3 separate regions of the Homo sapiens genome follow, and all the other regions are linked to region 1. Evidence: promoter capture Hi-C in 16 types of primary human blood cells and fetal thymus (Javierre and others, 2016). All regions are on one chromosome and are shown on one strand. Each heading gives the region's core, a stretch centred on a gene start or on the middle of the fragment in contact. The rest is flanking DNA. Distances are from core to core; before and after follow the strand shown.

Region 1 (3,356 bases), core at 388-2,887:
ACCAAGCAGGTGTAAAATGTACTTTCCTCAGAGGAGTTTGTAGTCTAGTTTGAGAAGATAGCACTGTATTATCTAGGTTTGCTGGTAGTGACAGAAACCTCAAAATAACTGAGACTTAGAAAATAGATATTAAAAAATGTAATCCAGGGCTGGCATGGAAGATCCATGGTCACCAGGGTCCCAGGCTCTTTCTATCTTATACTCCATTGTCCTCAACATTCAATTTCCACCTCATGATACTAGATAGCTGCTTCAGCTCCAACTGTTACCTCAATATTCTAGTCACAAGGCAGGAGGAAAAGGGAAAGAAAAGGGGATGACAGATCCCACTAAGGAAATTTCCTAGAAGTTGTGCACACGACTTCTGCTACATTCAGTTGACCAGAAGACAGTCATACAACTACACCTAGCTACAAGGGAGGCTAAAATTTGTAGTCTTTATTCTTGCTGGCCAGATGCCCAGATAACTGTCAGGGATTCTGTTACTCTAGTAAGAAGGAGAGAGTAGCTATTTGGGAATAGTAGCAATCCCTACCTCAAGCCCATACTCAGAAAAAAAAAATACTATCTTGTTTGGGCAGTGTATTTCCACACATATGTCTTAAGAATCTCAGAATGGGGGAGGTAATTTAAAATATACCAGTACCGTACCCTCCTGGGTGTCTTGATTATGCTGGGGCATCCAGTATATGAAATAAAATTAGGCTGTTGTCTGGTAATTTACATTTAAAAATAAACATTGGAGAATTTCACTCCTATACAGCAATAATTATTATTTCATTTATTATTTATCCCTACCCACTACATGCAATATCTGCTTACACTAAAATCTCTTGATTATTAACATAGTAGAGGTAACTGTCACACATTATACTTCAACTATGTACTAACTCTAAGGTGACATGTATGACTAGCACCTACCATTCATAAGATGTATGGGATTCAGTCCTCCAAAGGACCCTCACAAGGAAGCTAAGGATCAGAGAAGTCATGGCTTGCTCAAAGAGAAACAGCATAGTAAGTGACAGAGCTGGGAATCCAACACAAGTTTGTCTGTTTTCAAAGCCCACATATACTTTGTTTATTATGCCATTCTGAAGGATTCACTTATTTTTCACTCTTCCACAAAACGTCAGGACAGAAAGGCAGTCATCTATATGTAGCATTGAGAAATTTCTATGGGCTTTAATTTAAATCTTAAAAACTAATAAACTTCAGCAACATATTTCTTCACTTTAATGTGTGAGGGTTTTGTGCTCATTACCTCTTTTAATTGTCCAACCCAATTTGGTGATGATCCATTCAACAAATTTTTCTTGAACATCTGTTTTATGTGTCAGGTACTGTGATGGTTGCTGAGTATATCATGGTAAGCAAAACCACACATTGTCCTTACTCCTTGTGCTACATGATTTAACTGCTGGATGGATTAAACCAGGAACTATAAAGATTAAACTGTAATCCTTACCACAATTTTGAGTTTACAGTTTTTCAAATATCATTTCAAGCCATTAGCAAAGGCTGTATGTATTTTTTACATATGCCTCCTCGTTTTGTGAATTTTGAAAGGATGTGGTTTCGGCCTTTGACATCAGAGGAGAAGCTCAGCTATGTTGGCTGAACGTTGATAGAAAGATAACGTTGAAGGCAAGTTGCCCTTGAGCAGCTCTCTGAAGATCAACTGCCTCCACATTGCATTCTTTGCCCCAAAACTCTTTCCTTTGGTTGTGCTAAGAGGTGATGCCCAAGGTGCACCACCTTTCAAGAACTGGATCATGAACAACTTTATCCTCCTGGAAGAACAGCTCATCAAGAAATCCCAACAAAAGAGAAGAACTTCTCCCTCGAACTTTAAAGTCCGCTTCTTTGTGTTAACCAAAGCCAGCCTGGCATACTTTGAAGATCGTCATGGGGTATGTGAGCAGTTTCATTTGTCTTTTTTCGCATAGCATTTTATGTTTGGACTGGGCTAATGCAAAAATATATACATAGCATAAAATAGAGCACAGGAAACACAAACATGCTTATTGTAACAACATAAAAAGTACAGTAAAAGTAATCAGAGGAGAATGCAGAGAGCAGTCAAGAGGTGAAATGGTGGTGCTAGGTGATTTCAGTTCTAAAAACTGTAAATTTAACATTCATCAGCTTTTTCCCCCTGCAAGGTTATGTTTGGTTTTTAAATTATGAATAACATTTTAGGTAGCAAGTATTATGATTCGATAAAACTTGAACTTTCTATGAAACATACTAAATTTAATGAAACATACTAAATTTAATGAAACATAGATTAATACAACACTAGCATTCAATGGGATGATCTACCCCAGCTTTCTTATTTTTTAGTGGAAGAAACTGGTGTTTAGAATGGTTAAGTTTTGGGTTCAGTGTTAACGTTTTCATGAATAACTCTGTTTGTCTCAATACTCGTCGCTAGCCTGATCTTGAAATAAGATTTCCCAGGCATTTAATTATCTAAAAGTTGTAAGGCACAATGGCAAACCTCTTCATCTCTTGATAGACTTCTTAGGACACCAGGGTTATTAAGAACAAAGTTTCTGCAGTGCAGACCAGCGGTTCTTACCCAGAAGGAGTATGGCTGCTTTGCTAGGTCAGTCTATCTCTTTATCTAAAAATAGTCTTGTGCTTCTTAACATCACTAATAACAAAAGCAACAGGAATAATCCTAATAATGTAGTTTGGTAGAAAAAGCATTGGACAAAGGGTCAGGAGACCAAACTCTACTTCTCAGTAGGTGATCCAGTCTGGGCAAATGTCTACCTCCTGTTTCAGGTTCTTTCTTCATAAAATGAAAAAACTGGAAATAACAACCTTCAAGATCCCTTTCTTCTTCAAAACTTCTTTGCTTTATGCAGTGGCTCTTGTTTAGCCCTATGCTGCAATTTTTCAAAGCATGTTTGATTTCTTACTGTATGGTTATATTATTTTTACATCATTAGTGGGGTAGGACAAGGATTATCACTTATATTTTACTGAAGGGAAAATAATATTAGGTGCCTGATGGTCACTTAGAAACAAAAGTGCTCCAGTTCTTTGTTGGAGTCTGACTTAGTAGGTGGTGGCATGAGTTTGGGATTCTTTGGTGTGCCAGGGTTTAAAGCACTTCATGAGATGGAGCTCCAGAGGAGGTCAGGCTGGGTATAGAGCCTATGGATGCCTCACTTTTTAAAGTTGCAGGTGTTGCATGTCTTTTGTGAATTAAAAAAATACAGAAAACAAAAAAGTTGCAGGCGAAATAGCTCTGCCTCTTTAGAAGTGAAAAGAATTGCTTGTCTTATTATCAGACTCTTACTGATAACAATTTACCAGTCAATCAGAAAACACATGGAATTACG
Region 2 (3,356 bases), core at 570-3,069, 570 kb after region 1:
GTCTGTCAGGCTCATATTACCATATGTGCAGGTTATTTTAAGTTCTAAAGGTGTAAATGGCACAAGGGAATTTCTTGGAGCCTCCTCATAGATCCTTAGAGTAAAGCTGTAAACAGCAGAGGCTCTAATGTGTGAGTTAGGTCTTGTATAAATGGAATAAAAACAGCCTAAGGTTATCTCTTTTGTCATCTGGCAAGCAGTTCTGACATCTGCCCTGTGAACACAATGACCTACTTAGCCATTCAAAGCATCTGTATCCTGATAATTAAATTGTTACCTTATTAAGTCACTGTCTTTTGGATGGAGAGGTGTGCCAAGCAAGGGACTGTTTTGCTTCATTCCTAGAAATTTGTTTATTAAGAGAGAACATCCTGAAACGCTCTGTGCTGTTCCGTGTGCCTTCGTTGGATGTCTTACCATGCCACAGCATCCCTGCCCAAGCTAGGATTTACCCCGGCCTGCTTGCCTGGCTGTAACACAAAGACAGTATGCTTGTTCCCAAAATGAGAGCAGTTTGGGGGACCTTAATTTGCCTATGCAATTTGCCACCATTAGGTAGTTGAAATGCACTCCAAGTCTCATTGCAACATTTATTTCTATTTTACCAGTTATTGCTTTGCTACCAAGATTGTCAAGGGAAAGGAATATTCCTGTGTATTGCTATGTGGTGGGTGGTTTTAGCTTTCCCTATAGAGCACTTTACTGTAATGGTATGACAGTGTGTGAAGACCAGCTTTGTCAACTTCTTATGATTAAGTATATATCCCTGGAATCAAGATCTCAGAGAATATGCCCTACATACTGAAAATTTTCACCATGGCACTGCAGACAGTTGAGTGTACATGAGAGAAAGGCATTGACGTCGCACAGAGTTGATGACCTTCAGAAAGCAAGAAAACAACAGAAACATGGGTGAGGATTGGATTCATTCAAGAAAGAGTTCCTACTTGAGGGTGAAGGGTGGGAGGAGGGTGAGAATCACAAAACTACCTATTGGGTACTGTGATCACTACCTGGGTGACAAAATAATTTGTGCACCAAACCCCAGTGACACACGATTTACACCTGCAACAAACCTTTCGTGTACCTCCTGATCCAAAAACAAAAGTTGGAAGGGGGGAAAAAAAAGAACTAGGTATGTTTTATATGTATGCCACAGTTTTAATTTAAAAAAATATATGCCTACTCTAAACTCTGATTGGATACAGTTGCTCAGGAAAATCAAAATATAGATACCAGTAAGATAATACTATTTGTGGACATATACAAATGCTTTCTGGAAAAAAATGCCTATGCATTTGAGAATGCATAATCCTTTGCAAAATATTCACATAAAATGTAAGTTCCATCAGGCTGTAACAGCAAGAAGAAGCTTTGTTAGGTCATATCATCAGTGAAACATAATGAAGAATACATGAGGAGCTACATTTTGTCGCTGACTTTAAAATGATGTATTTCATCAATTCAGATCCAAGTTACCCATCCAAATTCACAGAGAGGACAGTGTGGAATGTTTATGAAAAAACAAGGAGTGCAAAATTAAGTGTAATGGTGTTTTAACTGTAAAATATTTCACTTTGTATCTCTGTCATAGAATCTCTTTGAATTCCCTTGTGGAGCAGTTGTATTCTTTTCCTTGCAGTAATAAAATTTTAAAAGTAGCCAGGCACAGTGGCTCACACCTGTAATCCCAGCACTTTGGGAGGCCGAGGCGGGCAGAACACTTGAGGCCAGGAGTTCAAGACCAGCCTGGCCAACGTGGTGAAACCCTGTCTCTACTAAAAATACAAAAATTAGTTGGGCATGGCAGCATCTGCCTCTAGTTCCAGCTGTTCAGGAGGATGAGGCACGAGAATCGCTTGAACCCTGTAAGTGGAAGCTGCAGTGAGCCGAGATCATAGGGACATCATAGAGACCTCTACAGAGGTGATACGAGGTCTCAAAAAAAAGTAATAATAAAAGTATAGGAGGCTGTTGCAATACTGGGAATACTAAAGAAGAAAAAAAGCATAGGAGGAAAGGTTTTTCGTCATCATTAAGCCTAAGCCATCACTGATACCAACAAAGAACTCACACACAAGCTGTACTTGCAAGTGGAATGCAATTGCTTTTCCTCCTTTTTAATATTGACATGCCTATAGAGATGGTAAGACAAGACTAAAGAGCATTATCCTCTTTTCCACATAATTCTAGTGTCTATATTTCTCCTTAGTATCGCAGCACCATACCTAGCCCACGGTGGTTCTGGTTTATAATTGTGCTTCAAGCAAGCTTTTTCTAGGTATATCTGTCACTGTGAAATGAACTGGTGTGTTCAAGCTCACGTCTTGACATTATAAAGCTGTAAGAAAAAGTGTTATCATTACTTTGTTTTAGCTACAGGTGTGTTGGTGTGCAGCCTGTGCCGGTGTGAACAAGTGTGTGTGGTCAATCCAAAATGCATATGACATGCAGGGTTTGGCTCCTAGACCATTGTCTAGGTGAATGGCTTGTCTCCAGTTCCAAATTCAGTTTTCCTGCAGGGAGCCTACACAGTCCTTTTACTCGCACACATCCTGCTGAGAAGGATTTCAAAACAAACCTGATTTATTGGGCCTCTGACGTGATACCATGATTGAAAATTTGTTTGAGTCCTGTTGTTGTAGTTTACTTTGATTGCTGAAATAATTTCCCACAATATGGTGTCTTGATGTTTTCATTTTAATAAAGTGATATTCTTTGGATAACTTTGACTTCACTTCCTGCAAATAAAGAGCAAGAAAATAGGCAAAATCAAGAACATCTGAGCCCTGTGTACAGCAGTAAAATGAACTCTCAAATTTGAACAGCATCTCTGTTACACAGAGGTTGCCAAAAGGGCATGAGTATGACTTACATAAAACCGAGAACAGCGGTACTTAGGCTTCAGAAAAGGCCAAGCTTAAAATTCAGCCTTGTCACTTTTCTCAGCTCATTGCAGCTGTTTCCAGTCAGCTGTCTCCAGTGCAACTAAGGAATAGTCTCAGATGATTTCTGCACCACACTGCTGTGTGTGTGTGTGTGTGTGTGTGTGTGTGTGTGTTTAGGCCAGTTTGACATAGCATCACAATAGGGAAGACACTGATGTGCCTTTGCCGGGTCACTGATTCAAACATTGTACTTTCAATCTGTCATGGCACCCTTCTATAGAATGGCAACTAAAACTATTTTCAGAGAAAAGAGAAAATATTTTTCCATTGCAGACTCATAAGGTGACTGTTACAGTTTGTGGTTTCATTTCTCTGGGCCCTTAATAGGTTATGGAATCTGGGGAGCTGCCTTTGCCCTAATGAGCTAATAACTTTGTATATTTGGAGATATATATGTAGATACAGTTT
Region 3 (3,356 bases), core at 478-2,977, 540 kb after region 1:
CCTTTCTTGGCTTGTAGATGCATCACTCCAGTCTCTGCTTCCTTCCTCAGGTGCCATTCTTCCTCTCTGTGTGTGTCTCTGTTTTCTTATAAGAAAACCAGTCATAGTGGGCTAAAGGCACATCCTAATGACCCCATTTTAATTGCTTACAGTAGCCAATAGGGCAAAGACCCTACTTCCACATAAAGTTACATCCACAGATATATGGGTTAGGACTTCAACATATTTTAGGAGAGTCACAATTCCACCCAGAACATGTAGAAAAGTTAAAAAAATATATAATGGATACCCATAAAACCACCACTAGATTCAATAGTTGTTAACAGTTTGCCACTTTTGCTTTTACTACCAATCTACTTTTTTACTGTTACTATCTCATCCCTAAATACTTCTTAGTGTGTCTCCTAAGATTAGTCTTTTACACACTACATTATCATACCTGTAAAATTTAAAATTCCCTAGTATCCACTAATAAAGAGTGGCAATAGATTATATTATTACTCAAAAGTATTCACTTTCCTCTTCTCTATGGGAAGATGACACACTCTTCCCCTATAATCTTAGCGCTTGGCCATATTGCTTCAGCAAACATATTGTGAGCAGCAAGATGCACATTGTGCGGTGTAGAAGCTTTTCTAATCATTTCCTGGGTTTTGGGGTAAGACACAGGGATCAAAACAGCTATCAGGAATATAACCATAGTCAACTGGCAGTACAAGTGACTTGAACAGGAAATAAACTTTTGTTTTACAAACCACTAAAACCTAGGGTTGTTTGTAATTGCAGATTTCCCCAGTGAATTTAGAGCTGTTTTTAATGGTTTTTAGGCCAGTATCCAGTCAAGAGTTTTGCATTGTATTTGGTTGTTATGTCTCTTAAATCTCTTATTCTGGAACAGTCCCCACTTACCTTTTCTATTTTTTTTTTTTTTTTTTTTTTTTTGAGACAGTGTTGCTCTGTTGGCCAGGCTGGAGTGCAGTGGCACAATCTTGGCTTGCTGCAAACTCTGCCTCCCAGGTTCAAGCAATTCTCCTCCCTCAGCCTCCTGAATAGCTGGGATTACAGATATGAGCCACCAAGCTGGCTAATTTTTATATTTTCAGTGGAGACAGGGTTTCCCCATCAAGGCCAGGCTTGTTTCCAACTCCTGGCCTCAAGTGATCCACCCGCCTTGGCCTCCCGAAGTGCTAGGATTACAGGCGTGAGCCACCATGCCCAGCCCTCCACTTACCTTTTCTTTCTTCCCTGTTTCTCCTCCTTTTTCATTTTCCTTTTTTCTCCTAGGACACATGTTCAAAGATATTGTTCTTCTTGATAAAATTTACTTTTGAAGAAGCCAAGTCAGTGATCTTACATAATACCCTGCATCCTGAATATGTCTGATTATGTTCTTTTGGCGTGTGTGTTTTTGTTTTGTTTTGTTTTTTTAAGATGGAGTTTTGCTCTTGTCACCCAGGCTGGAGTGCAATGGTGCTATCTTGGCTCACTGCAACCTCTGCCTCCTGGGTTCAAACGATTATCCTGCCTCAGCCTCCCAAGTAGCTAAGATTACAGGCACTATCAATACAATTGCAATACAATTGCAATCAATTATAGTTATTATTTTTATCAATGCCCAAATTATCGCATATTTGGCCAGTGGGAACCCCTTTAAGCTGGCTCATCTTTTTTGAGATACACTCATTAGTCTGAGCATTTCCTTCCTTTCTGGGACAACACAGTGTCCCAGGCTCGCCTAGAATTTCCTCTGCCACAATGTGGAGCCAGCCATTTCTTCAAGGAGTTTATTTTCATTTTCATGGGGAATGGTAATTTGAAGTTAAGATCTGGATGCTTACTGCTTCTGGAGTGTCATTTTATCTCCACCCAATGGACAGAGCTGGGAAATACACTTTATTTTTTTGAGACATTATCTGGATCTGTCGCCCAGGCTGGAGTGCAGTGGTGAGATCTCAACTCACTGCAAGCTCCTCCTCCCTGGTTCAACCGATTCTCATGCCTCAGTCTCCCGAGCAGCTGGGATTTACAAGCATGCCCCACTATGCCAGGCTAATTTTTGTATTTTTAGCTCAGAGTTTCACCACATTGGCCAGGATGGTCTCAATTTCCTGGCCTCAAGCAATCTGCCCGCCTTGGCCTCCCAAAGTGCTGAGGTTACAGGCATGAGCCGCCGCACTGGGCCTGGAAAATACATTTTTAAAAATCATGAATTCAGGGCCGGGCATAGTGGCTCACACCTGTAATCCCAGCGCTTTGGCATGCGGATAGCTTGAGCCCACAAGTTGGAGACCGGCCTGGTTAACATGGGGAAACCCTGTTTTTTCTTTCTTTCTTTTTTTTTTTTTTGCTTTTAAGGAGCGGAGAGTTTAATAGGTAAGAAGGAAGGGAGAAGACAGAAGAAAGAAGCTCCCCCATACAGAGACACAGGGATGGGGGCTCCAAAGCTGAAAGAGGAGGTCCCCACCTGGCAGGGACACCAGCCAGGTATATATGCAGAGGCTGGAGGTGGTGTTTGATTTGCACAGGGCTCAAGGGATTGGTTTGACTAGGCATGACATTCACGTAGCCTGTAAAAAAGCTGACCCTCCCACCCTAGCCTTTTAATATGCAAATGTAGGGCGCCATGATGTTCTACACTCCTGGGGATATTTGGAGGTGGCCATGTTGCCAGGAACATGTGGGGAAAGGGCAGGAAGGCCACAGGAATCTCCATGTTTGGGTGGGCCCACTTTCTAATGGTCAGTATTTGCATATCAAAGGTTGGTGGGCTGCTGCTAAGAGCCAGGGATTTAAGAGAAACTTTTCCAGAGATGCTTTAAAAAACAAAAGCTTCCCTTGGCCAGGCACGGTGGCTCACGCCTGTAATCCCAGCACTTTGGGAAGCCGAGGCGGGAGGATCACGAGGTCAGGAGATAGAGACCATCCTGGCTAACACAGTGAAACCCCGTCTTTACTAAAAATACAAAAAAAAAAAAAAAAAATTAGCCGGGTGTGGTGGTGGGCACCCGTAGTCCCAGCTACTCAGGAGGCTGGGCCAGGAGAATGGGGTGAACCTGAGAGGCGGAGCTTGCAGTGAGCCGAGATTGCGCCACTGCACTCCAGCCTGGGCAACAGAGTGAGACTCTGTCTCAAAAAAAAAAGAAAAAAAGAAAACTTCCCAAGGACCTCTCTTCCTACAACATTCCCCGCTATGGAGATGCCACACTAACTGCTGTTAGAGGGTTTTGGGTTATGGTTCTTTCTGGCTACTTTCTGCTGAAAAGGGGAGTCACATGGGGGAACAGCAGCTAGGGCTCCTCCTGGGGTGGATCTAAGGGTCCTCAGAAGAATGGCATCTCCATGTGTGTTTCAGTTTA

The links. Contacts are between HindIII fragments. The CHiCAGO score rates a contact against its expected background, and 5 or more counts as called.
Region 2: a fragment that was not itself captured here is called in contact with the fragment with the promoter of ITK in region 1 in 8 of 17 cell types (fetal thymus, activated CD4 T cells, total B cells and 5 more); the score reaches 8.1 in fetal thymus.
Region 3: a contact is called between a fragment that was not itself captured here and the fragment with the promoter of ITK in region 1, in 1 of 17 cell types (M0 macrophages). The highest score is 7.1, in M0 macrophages.

What each region holds. Positions count from the first base shown.
Region 1 is chr5:157,179,203-157,182,558 of GRCh38, forward strand. ITK (IL2 inducible T cell kinase) reads left to right here and starts at 1,638. Exons shown (of 17, transcript NM_005546.4): 1 at 1,638-1,913. The coding sequence starts at 1,776. The HindIII fragment of the contact is 39,229 bases long and covers 1-3,356 here.
Region 2 is chr5:157,744,968-157,748,323 of GRCh38, forward strand. All of the region lies in intron 1 of LSM11 (LSM11, U7 small nuclear RNA associated), which reads left to right. Among named protein-coding and RNA genes, the nearest start is that of LSM11, 2.9 kb to the left of the region's middle. The HindIII fragment of the contact is 899 bases long and covers 1,371-2,269 here.
Region 3 is chr5:157,716,821-157,720,176 of GRCh38, forward strand. No RefSeq gene overlaps it. Among named protein-coding and RNA genes, the nearest start is that of THG1L, 13 kb to the right of the region's middle. The HindIII fragment of the contact is 2,199 bases long and covers 629-2,827 here.